4 separate regions of the Homo sapiens genome follow, and all the other regions are linked to region 2. The links are contacts of gene promoters, found by promoter capture Hi-C in blood cells and fetal thymus (Javierre and others, 2016). All regions are on one chromosome and are shown on one strand. Each heading gives the region's core, a stretch centred on a gene start or on the middle of the fragment in contact. The rest is flanking DNA. Distances are from core to core; before and after follow the strand shown. Region 1 overlaps RTN3 (reticulon 3). Region 2 holds the start of PLAAT5 (phospholipase A and acyltransferase 5). Region 3 overlaps ATL3 (atlastin GTPase 3). Region 4 overlaps ATL3 (atlastin GTPase 3).

Region 1 (5,139 bases), core at 2,340-4,839, 220 kb after region 2:
CTCCCACCTGGGCCTCCCAGAGTGTTGACATTACAGGCATGAGCCACTATGCCAGGCTGGGCTCTCAAGCATCTTTATCTGCATAGAACCTAGCACAATTCTTAGGATGCCATAGGCATTTGGTTTGTACCAACGTATTCAGACGTTGCATCACCTAAGATTTTGAAGTAGATAAAAGCTCTTTGAATTATCTTCCTTAATATGTGAATGGTAGGAGGGAAAGTGTCTAAAGCTCTACATGAGGATTTTCTGTATTATATACCAGATGAAGGTGGTTACAGTTTGCCAATATGCCTTTTCTCTCCCTAGTAAAAAGGCATGTGGTCTGGAGTCTCTATGTCAAGAGAGTTTTTTGAGAATGTGGTGTTTGGGGACATTTATTGGGGATTTACTAAGTGGCAGCTACTACTGTGAACATGTATTAACTCATTTAATCCTCACAGCAGTTCTAAAGTTAGGTGCTTTAATTTTCCCATTTTGATGAGATTGGATTAAGCAGTTTACTCAAGGCCACACGATTAGTAATTGTGATTAAAGGACTTTGATTTTTTTTTTTTTTTTTTTTGAGATGGAGTCTCACATTGTTGCCTGGGCTAGAGTGCAGTGGTGTGATCTTGGCTCACCGCAATTTCCACCTCCTGGGTTCAAGCGATTCTCCTGCCTCAGTCTCCCGAGTAGCTGGGATTATAGGCATGCGCCACCACACTCGGCTAATTTTTTTGTATTTTTAGTAGAGATGGGGTTCTCCATGTTGATCCGGCTGGTCTTGAACTCCTGACCTCGTGATCAGGACCAGCTCGGCCCCCAAAGTGCTGGGATTACAGGCGTGAGCCACCGTGCCTGGCCGACTTCGAATTTTTTAATAAGAATTTTTTGGCCGGGCGCAATGGCTCACACTTGTAATCCCAGCACTTGGAGAGGCCGAGGCAGGCGAATCACCTGAGGTTGGGAGTTCCAGACCAGCCTAACCAACGTGGAGAAACTCCGTCTCTACTAAAAATACAAAATTAGCTAGGCCTGGTGGCGCATGCCTGTAATCCCAGCTACTCCGGAGGCTGAGGCAGGAGAATCGCTTGAACCCAGGAGGCAGAGGTTGCGGTGAGCCAAGGTCACACCATTGCACTCCAGCCTGGGCAAAAAGAGTGAAATTCCATCTCTCAAAAATATAAAAGAATTTTTTATTTGGGTCTAAAAATTTAGAATTTAGAATATGACTACCAACTTAATTTCTTAGTCTTTGTTTCAGATAATATATCTCAGTGGAGTATTTAGAGTTTAAGAAGATGAGTAATCATGGAGCTGAGTACTTGATAAGTTTGAGAACATGTTCATGATCATTGTGGGGATATGACATTTTTTACCTCTTACCATATATCGATTCTCACCCACCCCCCATTTTTTGAAACAAGGTCTTGCTTTGTCACCCAGGGTGGAGTGCATGGCTCACTGCAGCCTCGACCTCCTGGGCTCAAGCAGTCCTCCCACTTCAGCCTCCCAAGTAGTCAGGACCACAGGTGTATGCCACCATGACTGGCTAATTGTTTAATTTTTTTGTAGAGATGGGGTCGCACTGTGTTGCCCAGGCTGGTCTCGAACTCCTGGGCTCAAGCTGTCTCCCTGCCTTGGCTTCTCAAAGTGCTAGGATTACAGGCATGAGCCACCACACTCAGCTGATTCCCTTTTTAGTAAATCTACTAGATCTATGACTTTATTTGTTAATAATTAGAGTAGCACCATGTTTTTAAGTGATTAGAACTCTTGAAAATGAATATCCACACTAAATTCCATTATAGCAAAGAACTAATTTAGAAAATGTTCATAATGAGAGTTTTGATGGCGATTTGTTTTGAGTAGTGTTGAAAGGCTCTTAGAGTGCATGTGAAGGGATGAATCTTTTGAGAAAAGAAAGATAGTAGACATTTTCTGAGACATAAAATAATCCAGATTTATTCCACCAGACAGCTTTACAGTGTATAGTATTTTAAGAGCTAACTGCCTTCAGATTCACTGGACTTTTCTGTCCTTTTGCCAGGTACTGACTTGGGCAACAGCAGTGACTACAAGTGCCATACTGACCAATTGGAAGAGTCTTTGCTTATCGGAGCTGTTCTAAAAGGCTTATTAGTTTTTGGTCTTCATTCTATTTAATGTTTTCATGCCTTTATAAACTTTTTACTTCCAGCCCAATTTTTCCCATTGTCTTGGTACAGGTCAGCTGTGTCCAAGTTTGTTAGGGTTTCAGCTAGCCAAAAATGGTATTTTCATTTGCTGAAATTCTAAACAAAATAATTAAAGTTAAAGCACAGATGATGATGCTACCTTATTTTTCTACATGTGGGAAAGCTTGATTGATAGTAATGATTAGCGCCTGCATCTCACAATCACTGAGAAATGAATGCAGCACTGAGCTCTGTTTGCCCTCTAAGCTTGTCCCCAGAAAAAACAAGATATACCCTAAATAGTAAGTTATAATATTTTTATTAGGGAACATTATTAGAGTTTTTTTTTAATATATCTCGTAGCCATGTCATATTAATCTTTTTTCTTTTTTCCTTTTTTTCATTTTTCTCTTTTCTCTTCTCTTCTCTTCTCTTTTCTCTTTCTCACTCTGTCACCCAAGCTGGAGTGCAGTGGCATGACCATGGCTCACTGCAGCCTTGACCTCCCAGACTCAAGCAATCCTCCCACTCCAGCCTCCCAAGTGACTGGGACTACAGGCACGTGCCACCATGCACGGCTAATTTTTCTATTTTTTGTAGGGGCAGGATCTCAGCATGTTGCCCAGGCTGATCTTGACCTCTTGGACTCAAGCAATTTTCCCTCCTGTGCCTCCCAAAGTTCTAAGATACAGGCATGAGCCACCACACCCAGCCTAGAGAATCCTTAATGTTTGAAGTCTGTCAGGCTATCATGGTGCTCAGCAGAGGATGTGTTAGTATTCTGAGAATAGGACTTCTAACTTTAGTTTTACCTGAGATTATTCTACACCTAACTTGAAACTTTTGGAGTATTAAAGGTTCAAAGAAGTTAAGAGAAAAGCAAAGCTTGATAAACTGACCAGTTTGTGTCCTGCTAAAGCATAGACAGTTTTACCATGCTCTTCCCAGTGACATGAATATTCTTTGGTTAGCATTCAATTTGGTTGCTTTCTTTTTTGTTTAATCAGGCACTGTCACCACTGTATTATTGTCATCATTTTGCTTATTGATTTTGCTTATTGTCTGCCTTCCCCTCTGTGTTGTAAGCTCCATAAAGGCAAGAAATTTTTTCTGTTTTATTCACTGCTTTAAGCCCAGTTTCTAAAACAGTGTCTGACACGTGGTAGGCACTCAATAAATACCTGTTGAATTATTACTAATTCATTTTGTAGACTTTCATCTGTAAGATGACAGATCTGAATCATCTGAAATCTCCATCTCCATAAAACATATAAGCTGGCTGGGTGCAGTGGCTCATGCCTGTAATCCTAGTACTTTGTGAGGCTGAGGCGAGCAGATTGCTTGAGCTCAGGAGTTCGAGACCAGCCTGCGCAACGTGGTGAAACCAGCTCTCTACTAAAAATACAAAAAATTAGCCAGGTGCGGTGGTGCACGCCTGTAATCCCAGCTACTTCGGAGGCTGAGTCAGGAAAATCGCTTCAATCTGGGGGGCGGAGGTTGCAGTGAGCCGAGATTGCACCACTGCACTCCAGCCTGGGCAACAGAACTAGACTCTGTCTAAAAAAAACACACAAAAAACACACAAAAAAACATATAAGCTGAACCTCCCCTGTGGGGTGGAGTCAGTTTGACTCACCTCAGAGTTGTTTGAAGAGAGAGGTTCCCAAACAGTTTTACCATAACCTTAGTTCACTGAATGTTTTGTGGTAGAAACACTGACTAGTAAGTTCAGTAACAATGCATGGCTCAGATTGTGGAATATTTCTGATTTAAATGTAATCTGTAGTACTTCACACTTCAGATTTTTGAACCTTTTAACCTACAATACTGGGCTTCATTTCTGTTATGCCCTAATCTAGTCATGCTGAATATCCATACTGTATAATGGTAGATGCAAACCATGTTTACTAAATTAGAACTACATATGAATTACAGTTTACTTCAAGTGTTTTGTTTTGGTAATATAGCTTTGCCACCAAGCTTTTACAGTTTTCCTTGAATGTACAAAGACTTTTTATTCTAATAACCAGATTACAGTTATACTATTTCTAAAGCTCAGCTCTTATTACATCAAGTTTCAGTGATGTGTTGAAGTAGGGGAACTTTATATGGCATTTCAAAACATTTTCATAATACTGGAATTTTATTTATTGTAAAATATTTTTGTCTTTAATAAAATAATTTTGAATGAAGTCATAATTTTGCTTTTATCTGGTATTTGGATGTTTACATGAAAAAGGGAACATAAGCTGAATAAAGGTAATCCCAAAAGAACTTCTCTGTCACATTTTCCCAGTTACTCATTCATGCTCAAGGCATTGCTGTCCTGAGCCTACTTAGGTCTCAGCTGACCAAGCTGAATCTTTGATTCACTTATTTGGGGCTATTTATTTAAGACCCACTTTGTCCCAGCTCCAAAGATACAACAGTATGCAAGAAAGACAGCGCCCAGGGTGGGCGTGGTGGCTCATGCCTATAATCCCAGCACTTCAGGAGGCCGAGGTGGGCAGGTTGCTTGAGCCCAGTAGTTTGAGACCAACCTGGCAATGTAGTGAGGCACCAGGTCTGTAGAAAGTTTAAAAATCAGGCCAGGCGCGGTGGCTCATGCGTGTATTCCCAGCTCTTTGGGAGGCCGAGGCAGGCGGATCACGGGGTCAGGAGATCGAGACCATTCTGGCTAACACGGTGAAACCCCGTCTCTACTAAAAATACAAAAATAAAATTAGCCAGGCGTGGCGGCGGGTGCCTGTAGTCCCAACTGCTTGGGAGACTGAGGCAGGAGAATGGCGCGAACCCGGGAGGCGGAGCTTGCAGTGAGCAGAGATCGCGCCACTACACTCCAGCCTGGGCGACAGAGCAAGACTCCGTCTCAAAAAAAAAACAAAAAAAAAAAAAAAAGAAAAGAAAGTTTAAAAATTAGCCAGGTGTGGTGGCATGTGCCTGTGGTCCCAGCTACTTGGGAGGCTGAGGTGGGAGGATA
Region 2 (5,401 bases), core at 2,625-5,124:
ATTATATATATGGATGGCAAATATACGCATGAAAAGACGTTCAACATTATTAGTCATTAGGAAAATGCAAATGAAAACCACAATGAGATACCTACACATCTATTAAAATAGCTAAAATTTAGAAGATTTTGACCATGCCAAATGCTGATGAACTGGAACTCTTATAAACTGCTGGTAGGAATGTAAAATGATACAACCACTGTGGAAAACAGTAAGTTAAGGTTAGAGCTCTTTTAGAATTTGTCTGGCAGGCTTGGAAAGCCCCAAAAAAGAAAAAAAAAATGTTAAGGAAAACAGTAAATTAAATATACATCTACCACATGACCTAGCCATTTCATTCCTACATATTCACCCAAGAGGAAAAAATATACAGTCTGCACAAAGACTCGTACATAAATGTTCAAGCAGATTTGTGATAGTCAAAAACTAGTAACAACTCAAATGCTCAATCAACAGGTGAACACATAAACAAGAGTGGTATATCCATACAATGAAATACTGCTCAGTAATAAAAAGGAATGAACTGTTGATAAAAAGCAACAACATGGATGTCAGTCAAAATAGTTATATGGGCTGGCTGCAGTGGCTCATGCCTGTAATCCCAACACTTTGGGAAGCCGAGGCGGGAGGATCATGAGGTCGGGAGATCGAGACCATCCTGGCTAACACAGTGAAACCCCGTCTCTACCAAAAATACAAAAAATTAGCCGGGCATGGTGGCAGGTGCCTCTAGTCCCAGCTACTCGGGAGGCTGAGGCAGGAGAATGGCGTGAGCCCAAGAGGCAGAGCTTGCAGTGAGCCAAGATCACGCCACTGCACTCCAGCCTGGGCGACAGAGCGAGACTCCATCTCGAAAAAAATATATATAGTTATATGAAGGAGACAGACAAAGAAGTGCACATACAATATGATTTCATATAAATCTCTAAAAATGTGAACACATCTATGGTGACAAAAAGCATATCAGTTGTTGCCTGGGGATGGGAGTGGTATGGGAAGAGAGAGGGATTACAAAAGGCACAAAGAAACTTTTGTAAATGACAGAGATTATTCATTATCTTGATTGTGGTGAAGATTTGACAGGATATATATATAGATGTCAAAATGTATCAAACTATACACTTCACTGGCATATATATATGCCAAATTTATCAAATTGTATATTTTAGATATGTGGAGTTTACTATATGTCAATTACACCTCAATAAAACTGCTTTAAAACAAAGCATAACCAACATCCCAAATCAGGATATTTATTAGACCATCTAAACCAAGTTTGTCCAACCCGCAGCCCACAGGCCACATACAGCCCAGGACAGCTTTGAATGTGGCCCAACACAAATTTGTAAACTTTATTAAAACATTATGAGACTTTTTTGTGGGTTTTTTTTTTTTTTAAGCTCAACAGCTATCGTCAGTGTTAGTGTATTTTATGTGTGGCCCAAGACGTTTCTTCTTCCAGTGTGGCCCAGGGAAGCCTAAAGATTGGACACCCCTAGAAACAAAGTAAAATACAATATGTAGAGAAGTTGCCAGGAGGTTAAAGATAGTCACTTTGAGAATTCTTGTTACACCTACCTCAGCTGCTTGCTTTATTAACTTGCCTTCATTCTCAGGCTTTGGAATTGAACTCCAGTCTGCTTTCTGGCTGGGTGTGGTCTCCAAGCTAACTACAGCCTTCTCCCTAAATGATTTTGCAATCACAAAGTTAACAAATATCACTATTTCATAATTATTGGAAAATCTGTATTACAGATTTGTGATTTTTAAGATGGCTTTTGGTTTGGAGACTGTAGGGAACATTTCCCCCCGTTTGTTTCTGTGAACCCATTAGCTTTCATACAAAAGAATTGCTGTTTGCTGGTTTTCTGACAATTGTTCAAATGCTAATGATAGCAAGAAGCAGTTTTGGGGGTTTTTATTTTTTAATTTGCTAATAATGTCTTTTTAATGTTTATCAAAGTGATACTTGCACATGGTTTCCAGTACATAAGAATTTATAATGAAATGCAAGGAGCCTTCCTCCTTTCCCTTTTCATCCCAGCCCTACTGCCCAGAGGCAAACCCCTTGAACTCTTTCTTCCAATAATTAGCCCCAGATTTCTAAGAAAGCTTGATAAGCCACAACACTGCAACTGCAAGTAATATGAATGAAATCAGTATATTTCTCCCTTGAAACAAAATGTTACAGGAGAGGACAGAAATGAAAGGCAAGAATATGCTTTCAAGCATATTAAATTAAGGTAGTATAGTAGAGTAAAATACTTCGAAGCCAAAAGATCTAGGTTTGAATCCTAGCTTTCATGATTGCTGTCCCACCTTGAGCTAGTAAATTAATGTCTGACTCTCAGCTTGATTATCTTTAAAAATAGAGATGAAAATGTGTCTCACAGTGGTCAAGAAGGTGAAAGGACACAGCACATGTAAACATCTGGTATACCACCAACTCAGAAATGACTTTTTCTTTACCTTTTCCCATGCTTTAAACTCTTCTCCAGAAAAAAATAGTGTGTGGGGCAGAGGGGACACCCCTCATTTTCAGTAGAGCTCCTCTCCAAAATTTCAGCCCCTCGGAATTTTTTAAAGCAGCAATCATCATGTTGTTAATGAAAGTGAATTCAGGAAATCTGCCAAAGGCCGACTCATTGTTCACTGATTAGTGAGACCAAGGACAATACTGTAAGCCTCCTGCTAAAGCCATTCATTTCTCTGGGGTCTAGAGAATGGCCTTGTGGCTAGAAACAGCTGCAACGCATGCCTGTGGCCAGCAGGTCCCAAGCCCAGTACCATCTGTTATCACCCAGGATCACACCAGCCTTCCCCTTGCTGGGTACCGGCTGGCTGGTTCACACAAAAACCACCTCTGGGTTTGTTTTACAGAACTGCATTCCAAGTCAATTCTCCAAAAGATTTCTTCCACCCAAAGACCCCAACCTTACAATCTTCTTACCCTTGCTGGATGCTTCTGCCCTGTTCTAATGTGCCCGGCGGAGGCTGCTTGGCTGGGAGCTGGACCAACGCTGCGAATCCCACGGATTCTTCTAATTCAAGGGGGGAAATGCTATTTAGACCTGTGAAAGGAGAGTTCGAGCAAGCACCTTGACCGCTACGGAGAGTGGGCTCAGAGCTCTAGTCTAGCATCGTGCCTGGCCCCTGGTTAGGCCTCAGAAAATCTTGGGATGAATGGAGAGGGTTGTGGAACTAGGTGCTGGAGCGGGTTCAGTTCCTCTGCCAAAGAGAGACTTTGGGATTCCTGGGAACGGAATCGGGGAGAGGATGAAGAAGGGCGCCTCGCCTCTATCCTAAGCCCGATGGGAGGAACCTCTGCCGAGCCAGAGCCGGTCTTAACACCACCCTCCGGAGCTGCCACCACTGCCTCACTTCCATATGAGATATAGCGGGAAGGAGGGAGTGGCTGCCTGGCTCGCTTTGATTAGCTTTATAACAAGCGGTCGTTCTGAAATACTCGCTCATGATGGCTAACAGACAACACAATCGCCAAATGTCTTAAGAAAAGGAGCTTTGAGGGTAACCGCCCGCTGGGACCTGAAGGACAATTGCGGATTGTCCTTCAGCCGCATTCTTGGGGCTGACCTGAGTGGGGCACAGCTGAACGTCTGAGCGCAGGCGGCTGGTCCTTGGGCCCGGTACTGGCGGTTCGCGAGGCGGGTTTGGGGAGGGGTGGGGGAATCCTAGGGAGGCGGAGCGCGTACTCCCCCTCGGCGCCCGGGCTCAGGCCCATCCCGCCTCTGCGGCCTCGCCGGCCCCCAGGCCTTGCAGGGGACTACGCCCCTGGCGAGTTCCCAGTCGGCGCGGCCCCTGGTCGGCGGAGCCGCGGAAGCTTGGGCACTGGGGGCGGCTCGGGGAGGAACCGCGGAGGGGAAAGCGCCGCGGGCTGCAAACGGCAGAGGCGCGCGGGGTGGCGACAGTGGCGCGGGCGCAGTGAGCGCGTCCGAGAACAGAATGGGACGAAACGGGGCGCTTAGAGGCCCGGGAATCTGTGGGTCTTTTAGGCGGAGAGGGGCGAAGGAGGTTATTCGTTTTGGGGAAGGTCATGGAAACAGCAAAGGCTCAGAGGTGGTGCCTAAAGTGGCTGGAGAAGCTGAACGGTTTGGAACAGAGGCGTGACTTGGAGGGGTAAATGGAGACCAGATTAGGAAGCCTTGGGAGGCACAATCAGGGGTTAAAATCTTGAACAATTCAGAGTTGTTTTATTTTTAAAAATATATAGAAAATGAAATCTACACTTACGTAATAGATAACTTATGAAAAAGTACATGGAATACACATGTTGCAGTCTTGCCAATGTACCTTAATGTAGCAGTTTCTCCTTGTCTGGACTGATACCCGGGATTCTTTGTCCTACTCCAAGAAAATTAAGGAACGGGACATAAGGTGAGGTGGGAGCGAAAGTTTAATAAGCGAAAGAAGAAAGCTCTCCACAGTGAGCTGAGTATGCAAGTGGATTGCCCTGTTACAGCTGAATTCAAAAGCTTTTGCAAGAAAATCTCTTATCTCTGTAGTAGTTTGAGTAACTTCTCTTATCAGTAAAGCTGTCTTACGCAGCTGTGGTTATGTATCTATGCAAGCACAAAGCACCGCCTTTTTTGTTTGCATAACTGTGGGTTTGTTTTAGGTAAGCCCCCCTCCTCCCTGTGAAAGTTCCCACCATGTATATGCCTGAAAAGGGGAGAAAACTTTCCTGGGAGCTCCCTAATTATACAAAGAACAAAAGGCTTCTGTGCTGGACCCTGTCTGCTTATCTGTGTGCAGGTGGAGCCTGAGTTTTTTACCAGGTTGTTTTATTTTTGCCTGTTGCTGTGACTTTTCAGGCAGGCCGCTTCTGCATTGAGTCTTCCCCAACTGATTTTCTCTTTCCTTCTCTCTCGCACACAGTTAGGAAACATAATGTAATTACTACCCATGACAAAACCATCCTACGTAAGAAATGGAACATTCCTAGTACAGATGCTCCCCACCTATGGATTCCTTCCTTATCCCTTCTCCCTCTGCACGCCCAACGTCTATCCTGACCTTTGTGTCTGTCATACCCTCACTTTTTAAAATAGTTTTTTAAATCGCTTCTTTGTATCCCTAATACATCACTTTGTTTTGCTTCTCTGAAACTTTATAAAAATGGTGCTATGGTCTGGGTGTTTGTGACTCCATAAAATTCATGTGCTAGAATTCTAACCCCCAAAGTGATGGTATCAGGAGATGGGCCCTTTGGTCATGAGTGGGATTCATAAGAGCCCTTATAAAGGAGGTCCTGCAGAGCTACCTAGCCACTTCCACCATGTGAGAACACAGCAGTTGCTGAGACCAGTCCCTCACAAGACAGGAATCTGCTGGTGCCTTGATCTTGGACTTCCCAGCCTCCAGAACTGTGAGAAATAAATTG
Region 3 (5,244 bases), core at 1,402-3,901, 180 kb after region 2:
TTTACAATTAAGTTCATCATACCAGATCTTTTTGTTTTATCTATTTCACTATTAAAAGTTTACTGAGCGAGGCCAGCCTCGGTGGCCCATGCCTGTAATCCCAGCACCTTGGGAGGCCGAGGCAGGCAGGTCACTTGAGGTCAGGAGTTCGAGACCACCCTGGCCAACATGGTGAAACCCCATCTCTACCAAAAATATAAAAAATTAGCTGGGCGTGGTGGTAGGCACCCGTAATCCCAGCTACTCGGGAGACTGAAGCAGGAGAATCGCTTGAACCCGGGAGGCAGAGGTTGCTGTGAGCCAACATTGCGCCACTGCACTCTAGCCTGGGCAACAGAGCGAAACTCTGTCTTTTAAAAAAAAGCGTACTGAGCAATGTGAATGTAATGAGCAATATCAATGTAATGACACACAGCACATACAATAAGCTATTGTTTTTTTGTTTTTTTTTTTTGAGACGGAGTCTCGCTCTGTTGCCCAGGCTGGAGTGCAGTGGCGCGATCTTGGCTCAGCGCAACCTCCGCCTCCCGGGTTCAAGCGACTCCCGAGCAGCTGGGACCACAGGCATGCACCTCCATGCCCGGCTAATTTTTGTATTTTTAGTAGATAGAAGGTTTCACCATATTGGCCAGGCTGGTCTCGAACTCCTAACCCTGTGATCCACCTGCCTCAGCCTCCCAAAGTGCTGGGATTACAGGCGTGAGCCACCGCACCCGGCCAATAAACTATTGTAAAATGAATGAATGACATGTACCATAATGTGGTTGAAGGCTACAACCCAAAGGATCCAAGTGGCATTGTCAGAGCAGTAGACATGGAAGATAAAGTTACGTGGTTACAAGATGGGGTAATCCAATGATAAGAATGTATACAGTTGAGACTGGGCATGGGGGCTCATGCCTGTCAATCCCAACACTGGAAGGCCAAGGTGGGTGGATCACCTGAAGTCAGGAGTTCAAGACCACCCTGACCAACATGGAGAAACTCTGTCTCTACTAAAAATACAAAATTAGCTGGGCGTGGTGGCACATGCCTGTAATCCCAGCTACTCGGGAGGCTGAGGCAGGAGAATCGCTTGAACCCCGGGAGGCGGAGGTTGCGGTGAGCTGAGATTAAGCCATTGCACTCCAGCCTGGGTGACAGAGTGAGACTCCATCTCAAAAAAAAAAAAAAAAAAGAAGAATGTATACAGTTGTGTACAGTGAACTGCACTTCAAGAGAAGCTGAAGACTACTGAGGACAGCTATGGGGGAAAAGTCCTTACTCATCTCTTCCTCTCCCTGTAGCACGGTACCCAAGAATAAAGGAAGGGAACCAGGCTCTGTTTAGTTGGAAGAGCTGGGGTGATTCTGCATTTCTCTTCACACCAGTAATATAAGCATGATTATCAACACCCACCAGATTAAAAAAGATCTTGTTGGCCAGGCATGGGAGGTCTCGCCTATAATCCTAGCACTTTTGGGAGGTTGAGGCAGGCAGATCACCTGAGATCAGGAGTTCGAGACCAGCCTGGGCAACACGGCGAAACCCCATCTCTACTAAAAATATGAAAATTAACCAGGCTTGGTGGTAACGCGCCTGTAATCCCAGCTACTTGGTATCACTTGAACCTGGGAGGCAGAGGTTGCAGTAAGTCAACCACTGCACTACAATCAGGACAACAGAGCAAGACCCTGTCTCAAAAAAAAAAAAAGATGTTGTTCACTGACAGTGATCCTTGGGTTTGGGCTTATGTAAGGGAAGAATTATTTTGAGCTGTACACACCAATAATGCAAGTTAAATGGAGCTGCTTATATATTACACCTTTTTTAAGACTGGGTCTCACTCTGTTGCACAGGCTAGAGGTGCGGTGGTGCAATCATGGTTCACTGCAGCCTCAACCTACCGGGCTCAGGCAATCCTCCCACCTCAGCCTCCCAGTATCATCTCACTGCAACCTCTGCCTCCTGGGTTCAAGCAATTCTCCTGCCTCAGCCTCCTAAGTAGCTGGGATTACAGGTACCCACCACCACGCCTAATTTTTGTATTTTTAGTAGAGGTGGCGTTTCACCACCTTGGCCAGGCTGGTCTCGAACTCCTGACCTCAGGTGATCCACCCGCCTCAGCCTCCCCAAGTACTGGGATTACAGGCGTGAGCCACCGCGCCCGGCCTACCCTCTATTTGGATGATACAACTTCACAGATCTCTAACTTGCATTTAGTCTAAATGTACAACTGCCTAAGGGACAGATTCACCTGCTTACTCTCAGAAGTAACCTGTGGAAATATACAAATTTAGGACTCAAAACACAAGTTCCTGTTCCAGCCCTGCCACTAACAACCTGTGTGATCCTGGGCATGTCTAGTTTTCAGTTTCATCACTAAAATGGGTCAAGTGCTAACTGGGTGTGGTGGCTCATGCATGTAATCCCAGCACTTTGGGAGGCCGAGGGGGGTGGATCGCACACCGTGCGATCAAGTGATCTATCCACCTCAGACTCTCAAAGTGCTGGGATTACAGGCATGAGCCACCGTGCCCGGTCCACTTGTCAGGAATCTTAAACTCTGGAGATCTAGTCTCCGGGGAGGGTACTAAAAATATCTGTAAGTGGCAACTTTACATGCCTTGTCCCTTTAGAGAAGCAATTATTTTCCAAGGTCTAATTCTGCATACTGCAACAACAGTTAATGCTGTATTACATTACTTACATGAATATGGATAACGTGATGTTTTTGCACAGACACAAAGCTACAGCTGGACCACTGTTACATCTATCATTCATATGTATTTATGTGAATTTACAACATATGTTTAAAATTCCAGAAATAAACAATTCGTAAGTCTTAAGATTGCAACGCAGTTCTTAGTACCATGATGAAATCTTGTGCTATCCTGCCTGGGACATGAATCATTCCCTTTTCCAGAGTATCCACACTGTATATGCTACCATGCCCATTAGTTATTTAGTAGCCTTCTCACTGATCAACGTAGTGTATACAGGGCTCAGTGCTATCAGCAGTTTCAGGCATCCACTGGGGGCCTTACAATATATGCCCCTCAGATAATGGGGACTACTTCATTGCTGTAAATAGCTCATGATAATATTCTATCACTCATCAGTTCAAGTATGTAGAAAATGTTGAAAATCTTTGTATAATTAGAAAGCATTTTTTTTTTTTTGAGACAGATTCTTGCTCTGTCGCCCAGGCTGGTGAGCAGTGGCGTCATTCCTGCTCACTGCAACCTCCACCTCCCAGGTTCAAGTGATTCTCCCACCTCAGCCTCCCAAGAGTTTAGGATTCCTGAGAAGTGGGCCGGGTGCAATGGCTCACGCCTGTAATCCCACCACTTTGGGAGGCCAAGGCGGATGGATCATTTGCAGCCAAGAGTTTGAGACCAGCCTGACCGATATAGTGGAACCCTGACTCTACTGAAAATTCAAAAAAATTGGCCAGGCGTGGTGGTGCATGACTGCAGTCCCAGCTACTCGGGAGGCTGAAGCAGGAGAATCACTTGAACTTGGGAGATGGAGGCTGCAGTGAGCTGAGATCGCGCCATTGCACTCCAGCCTGGGTGACAGAGCGAGACTCTGTATCAAAAAAAAAAAAAAAAAATGACAGTGTAGACTAGGGTTTCTCAACCTCAGCACTACTGACATATTGACATTGGAGCTGCACAACTGTTGTGGGGGGCTATCCTACGCACTACAGGCTATTGAGCAGCATCCCTGGCCTCTACCCACTAGATACCAGTAACACTCCCCACAACAGGTTCTAACACCCAAAAAACGTCTCCAGTCATTGCTAAATGCTCCAGGGGCAGGAAGAGGCAATATTACCATAGGTTAAGAACCACTGAGTAGAGTCAGCCTTGGTGTTTATCCTTACCATTCAAAGAGTTCTGAATACAAAGTAACCAACCAGTCACAGAAACACTTTGCTGAGTAGATTCATGTATGACTCAGGGTAAAGTTATGACCTGAGTTTTCCAGTCTCCTTATAAAATATCATATTCTCCAAAGGGCAAGAGCAACACACCCAAAACAGAGGCATACCATTTTCATGCCTTGTTCTTGCTGGCAGTCTTTAAGGTTTCTAACTGACAAAGCCAGAGAAAACATCATCACAGGCAAGAGTAAGTATACTAAGACCTTAGCCAACTCTAGAACTGCTGGGTGTGGTTCCTTCTGGTGGTGGAGGGGTGGGTGCTTTTATATACCGTTTTGTCTTAAGGCAGTGATTGTGCCAGTAGATACACTGCAATACGCTTAAGGCTGTTTCAGTGAAAATACTATTTAAATCTAATTAACCAGAATACTGGGCAAATTTTATATTTGTCTGTTGTAGAAAATCTTTTCGCCATAGCACAGAAGGCTGAACAAAACCATATTTTTTGTTGTTGACTAAGGATTGTGTAATGCTTCATAGGTTTACAAAAATTATCTATGACTAAATGGTACTGAAGATTCAGAAAATCCAAGGAGAGGGCTGAATCTGAAAATGATGCCAGGCTATATCACAAGTGGAGGAAAAAAACCTTTTTAATGGAATGAGCTCAGTAACACTTTTGTATCTCTTTCCTAAGAATAAGAATGCCACCAAAGGTTTGAATTAGCTGTGTTCCTTTTTTTTTTTTTTTTTTTTTTTTGAGACAAGGTCTCACTCTGTTGCCTAGGCTGGAGTGCAGTGGCAAGAACAAGGCTCACTGCAGAAAAAAGAAAAAAAAAAAGGCTCACTGCAGCCAACTTCCTGGGCTCACTCCATCCTCTCACCTCAGCCTCCTGAGTAGCCAGAACTACAGGCCTGCAACACCACGTTGGCTAACTTTTTTTTAATTTTTTTTTGGGTGGGGGGGGGCGTCTCACCATGTTGGCCAGGCTGGTCTTGAACTCCTGACCTCAGGTGATCCACCTGCCTCAGCCTCCCAAAATGCTGGGATTACAGGAGTAAACCACAGCTCCCGGCCAAGTAAGGATTTCCTAATTAGCGCCTACTATACCAGGAAAGCCTGTCTTCTAATCTGTTAACATACTTCAGCTGTGAAATATATCTAAGGTGTTCTGACAATCGAAATACCACGCAACTGGGCCAGGCGCCGTGGCTCACACCTGCAATCCCAGCACTTTGGGAGGCCGAGCTAGGAGGATCACCTGAGGTCAGGAGTTCAAGATCAGCCTGGCAAACATGGTGAAACCCCGTCTCTACTAAAAATACAAAAATTACCCAGGCGCGGTGGAGGGCGCCTGTAATCCCAGCTACCTGGG
Region 4 (4,751 bases), core at 952-3,451, 150 kb after region 2:
ACCAGTGCATTTTATATAGCTCTATCTTGATGAGGAAACCAAATAGTACATAATTATGAGACTAAAGATTGCTCATACAGAATTTGTTCCCTATTTTATAAATGTTATATATGAAACTTGACACGCTTAATATTTAGTGATTAAACCATTCATAATCTACATATATGTATAGTGAGTTGAACAGCATCCCCCTCCCCAACAAAATGCATGTCCACCTGGAACTTCAGAAAATCTTATTTGGAAACAGTCTTGCAAATGTAATTAGCTGAAAGGAGGTCATACTGGATTAAGGTGGGCCCTAAATCCAAAGACTGGTGTGCTCACAAGAAAAAGACAGAACACACAAAGAAGGCGGTCATGTGACAACAAAGAACCTGGAGGCAACTAAAGGTACAAGTCAAAGAATGCCAAGGACTGCTGGCAACTTCCAGATGCTAGGAGAGAGTGTGGGACAGGTTCTCCTTCAGAGTCTCCGGGCGGAACCAACCATCATTTTGGACTTCTGGCTCCCTGACTTGCGGGGGAATAAATTTCCGTTGTCTTAAGCCACCTAGTTTGTGGTAATTGGTTAAAGGCAGCCACAGGAAATTAATACAACCAAAAGTGACACAAATTTCAAAAGCCAGGGTTACTGAACTTTAAAAAACTCTGCCTACTCCCTGAATGATAAAAATGAAAATGAACTTTAAAGCAATGCATTGGAATACTAAAACTGAAACTATGGAAGAATGCCATGTGTGTGTGTTTATACTGGATAATCACTAGGAGTCACTCTAATTCACCCTCTCCTAACACCTCCATTTAAGAATTCCACTGGACACATTCCCTATCAGTGATGAACAAATCTGAGTTCAGGTTGGGAAAAGTACAACCAATAATGGAGCATTATAATCCTAAACAATATATTACCTAGAGACATACACATACACACTTAACTTTCTCTCCCTACTCAGCTCTGAAAACTCCCTTGAAACTGCTTTTCAGGTAAAAGGTTCTAGGTCCACTGCTTGCCAAGCGGATTTCTCTCCCCAAGCAATAATCTTAGATTTTTCAATTGCCATGAAACAGGCCAGGGAAGTCTCCTCCTCAGGAAAGCTGTCAATCACGTAAAAGTATCAGAGAAGTGACAAATAAAAGGTAAAGGTTAAGTCTCTTTAACTCAGTTTCTTTGCAATATTAAGACCAGCTAGAATGAAAATCTTGAGTTGAACATTCATTTTCTTGGATCAACTAAATCAAATAGGTTGGAAATGATGCATTTTATATTTAATATGAGGCTATGAAAACCATTCACTTCAAAACCTTTTAGTAGTAACTAAACAGTACATATCCTCTAAATGATTTCCTCCATATAACAGAAGAACCCCTATTTTAGCCCAGTATGGGTTTGGAGCAACAAGAACTTGGATGTAGATCTACGCCTCACCACTTACTTAACTAGCTGAGCACTTTGAGCAAGTTACTTAACTTTCCTCCTTTTCCTTAACTATTTTTGCCATTTTCCTCACATATAAGATAAAGGAAATGACATCAAAGTCATTGGAATTACTGGGAGCATAAATATCAAAGTACCTAGCATAGTGTTGCAAACATTACCAGGAATCTGAGAGACTCGGATAAGCTTATTAACAAGTGCTCAGTTTAACACATGTATAAATTAAGGGCTAGCCATTTAATGACTCAAGGCCTTAATGAAAAAGGAACAAAGATAAGATAATGGAGCCCAAGAGTCCCAACTACGATTCCTCTCACCTACCATTTAGTTAGCACTTCCTGATATTAGCACATGACCCAGCGTCAGGTTTTGCTATAATCACAAATAAGATGAAAATAATAGCTCTGCCATGCATCATGCTGCCTTCCCTTAGGAAGTTAATTTTACTTAATATTAGCTGACTAATGTTTAGTCTTCCTTTATTTAGCATTTGTATCTCTTGTAAACCAAGAACCATAATGAGTCTCTTTAGAAAGACTACTAATGGATATGAACACCACCATTTCAGGTGGAGAAGTCAAGGTAAACTAATTCTGATGGTCTCAGTAAGTCAGGAGCAAAATCTGAACTAGACTTTAAATACTACTCTTTCTAAGAGAGCATACCATTTTTCTTAAGCATTCACTTGATTTGTAAGTGATTCATTATTTTTAATTCCAAAGATCGAATCACAGGTTTAAAATAACACCTGGAACACACCTTTTAATTTCCCATCAAAGTCAGGGCTTGTGGCCACCTGGAGTCCTGGATGTGGTAAGAGAAAGCAGGTGACATCGGAGAAACATGAGTGAATGTGATTTCGAACATTCTGAATTTCTTCATGTTGATGTTCCTTCACCTGCCAATGAAGACCAAGAATTTACCAACCAAAAGTCATTTGGTTTTCTTCACTAGGGACAACTAGTATAAGGACAAAGGAAAGAAGACTCCTCAACTCTGATGGATCATAGTGGCCAAATGAGAAAACTCAGAACCCTAAGAAGCAATAAACACACAAATCTGATTACCTACGGCTTGACTCCTATAGCTAGCAAACAGGTGCATAAGAGTTTCATTAAAATGAGTATTACACAAGAGATGGTTTGTGGGGATGAAGGAGGATCTAACCAATTAGTAGTGACAGACAAAGGATTCCTGTGTTTTGGTTTGGGGGAACAGGTTAGGCCTGTTTATATCTATCCCAAAATAAGTAAAAATTTTGAAGAATAACATAACTAAAATTCTGAGTATGATTTCTAAAGACACATATAGAACTTGGTTTAAAATGTAAAATGGAAATTATAATCAAAGCTTGGGCACTGGCCCAGAGTTTTCTTCTACAGTTCCTGTGTACTGTATATACAGGTTCTTTAATCTTGTCAAGAATAAATATTAGCTTGTGTTAAGATTCATATATAGTTAATGTATTCAATATCATTTTCAATAATTGCTTTAAACACAATAGCCAAAAGCAAATGAGAAAGCTATCACTACTTTGAGATAATTCATCAGAAGATTATAGTCCCACTTACCTGTAAACGCTTATCCAAAAATGCCATTCCTCCTTGGAGTCCATAGCTATATTCATAAGGGAAACTCCAATCTCTAACCAAAAACATCAGTGTCTATTTAAGAAAAGAGCGGAACATATTTTAACATGCATAAACACATTTTCAAGAGAACAACTGCAATACATCTTTGCATAATGCCAGCTTCTACAAAGGGGGTAAAGTAGAAGGATTTACCTTTTTTTTTTTTTTTTTTTTTTAAAGAGATTGGGCCTTGCTCCGTCACTAAGGCTAGAGTGCAGTGGCATGATCATAGCTCACTGTAGCCTAGAATTCCTGGGCTCAAGTGATCCTTTCACCTCAGCCTCCCAAGTAGCCGGGACTACAAGCACATGCCACTACTCCTGGCTTATTTTTTAATTTTTTTATATAGACAAGGTCTTGCTCTGTTGCCCAGGCTGGTCTTGAACTCTAGGCCTCAAGCAATCCTGTGGCCTTGGCCTCCCAAAGTGCTGGGATTACAGGTGTGAGCCACCACACCCGGCCAGATTTATCTATTCTGTAATGTCTTAGAAGTTTTACAAACACTGGAGGGACATGTTTAAGCCAAATATGAGGTCAATATATCCTATCTGCTATTTTTGTTCCCACAGGTTAGTAGGAACAGAAGGAAGACATTAATGAGAAAATGGTAAATTTGGGACTCTGCCTTAAAGAAATCTATGGGGAATACAGTAAAGGACAAAAGAGAAAACCACATGGCACCAGCTAATCATAAAATCAGATCTGTGGCCGGGCACAGTGGCTCACGCCTGTATCCCAGCTACTTGGGAGGCTGAGGCAGGAGAATCACTTGAACCCAGGAGGAGGAGGTTGCAGTGAGGCGAGATCACGCCACTGCACTCCAGCCTGGGTGACAGAGCGAGACTCTGTCTCCAAAAAAGAAAAAAATCAGGTCTGTTTTCAGCATTAGAAAGGAAGGCCAGCCACCGTGGCTCATGCCTATAATCCCTTTACTCTGGGAGGCCGAAGCAGGTGGGTCACCTGAGCTCAGGAGTTTGAGACCAGCCGGTCAACATGATGAAACCCCATCTCTACAAAAAATACAAAAAATTAGCCGGGCGCCTGAAATCCCAGCTACTCAGGAGGGTGAGGAAGGAGAATTGCTTGAACCTGGGAGGCAGAGGTTGCAGTGAGCCAAGATCATGCTACTGCACTCCAGCCTGGGCAAAATTTTAGAAAGAAACTCCATCTCAAAAAAAAAAAATAAATTAGAAAAGAAAAGAAATAAGGCTTACACACTGAAAGCACCTCTAATCCCATTGACTGAGGCTGCTGTGCTTCCTCATTCTCAAGAAACACTGAACTGAGGCATAGGTCAGCAAAGACTTTTTGCAGAGAGAGAGAGAGAGAGAGAGACAGAGAGAGACAGAGAGTGAGTGAGTGTGTATGTGTGTGTTTGTGTTGAGACGGTCTTGCTTTGTTACCCAGGCTGGAGTGCAGTGGCACAATCATGGCTCACTGCAGCCTTGACCTCCTAGGCTTAAGTGATCCTCCTACCTCAACCCCACCGAGTAGCTGGGACTACAGGCGTGCACGACCTTTTTATTTTATTTTATTTTTGTTTTTTTCTTTTTTTTTGAGACAAAGTCTTGCTCTGTCGCCCAGGCTGGAGTATAGTGGCATGACCTCGGCTCACTGTAACCTTCACCTACCAGGCTCGAGCGACTCTCCTGCCTTAGCCTCCTGAGTAGCTAAGATTACAGGCA

The links. The method cuts DNA at HindIII sites, captures the fragments that hold promoters and counts their contacts. A CHiCAGO score of 5 or more calls a contact.
Region 1: a contact is called between a fragment that was not itself captured here and the fragment with the promoter of PLAAT5 in region 2, in 1 of 17 cell types (activated CD4 T cells). The highest score is 5.3, in activated CD4 T cells.
Region 3: a contact is called between a fragment that was not itself captured here and the fragment with the promoter of PLAAT5 in region 2, in 1 of 17 cell types (megakaryocytes). The highest score is 5.1, in megakaryocytes.
Region 4: a contact is called between a fragment that was not itself captured here and the fragment with the promoter of PLAAT5 in region 2, in 13 of 17 cell types (naive CD4 T cells, total CD4 T cells, non-activated CD4 T cells and 10 more). The highest score is 8.7, in naive CD4 T cells.

What each region holds. Positions count from the first base shown.
Region 1 is chr11:63,711,939-63,717,077 of GRCh38, forward strand. The region is part of intron 2 of RTN3 (reticulon 3); the gene reads left to right. Among named protein-coding and RNA genes, the nearest start is that of RTN3, 33 kb to the left of the region's middle. The HindIII fragment of the contact is 1,095 bases long and covers 3,043-4,137 here.
Region 2 is chr11:63,487,293-63,492,693 of GRCh38, forward strand. It overlaps PLAAT5 (phospholipase A and acyltransferase 5), which reads right to left and starts at 3,875. Exons shown (of 6, transcript NM_001146729.2): 1 at 3,595-3,875; 2 at 2,951-3,041; 3 at 1,579-1,684. The coding sequence starts at 3,742. It also overlaps the pseudogene LOC124902822. The HindIII fragment of the contact is 652 bases long and covers 3,840-4,491 here.
Region 3 is chr11:63,664,187-63,669,430 of GRCh38, forward strand. The region is part of intron 1 of ATL3 (atlastin GTPase 3); the gene reads right to left. Among named protein-coding and RNA genes, the nearest start is that of ATL3, 4.6 kb to the right of the region's middle. The HindIII fragment of the contact is 7,847 bases long and covers 1-5,244 here.
Region 4 is chr11:63,641,163-63,645,913 of GRCh38, forward strand. It overlaps ATL3 (atlastin GTPase 3), which reads right to left. Exons shown (of 13, transcript NM_015459.5): 7 at 3,007-3,099; 8 at 2,195-2,333. All of the region lies in intron 2 of LNCROPM (lncRNA regulator of PLAAT3 mediated phospholipid metabolism), which reads left to right. Among named protein-coding and RNA genes, the nearest start is that of LNCROPM, 27 kb to the left of the region's middle. The HindIII fragment of the contact is 1,164 bases long and covers 1,620-2,783 here.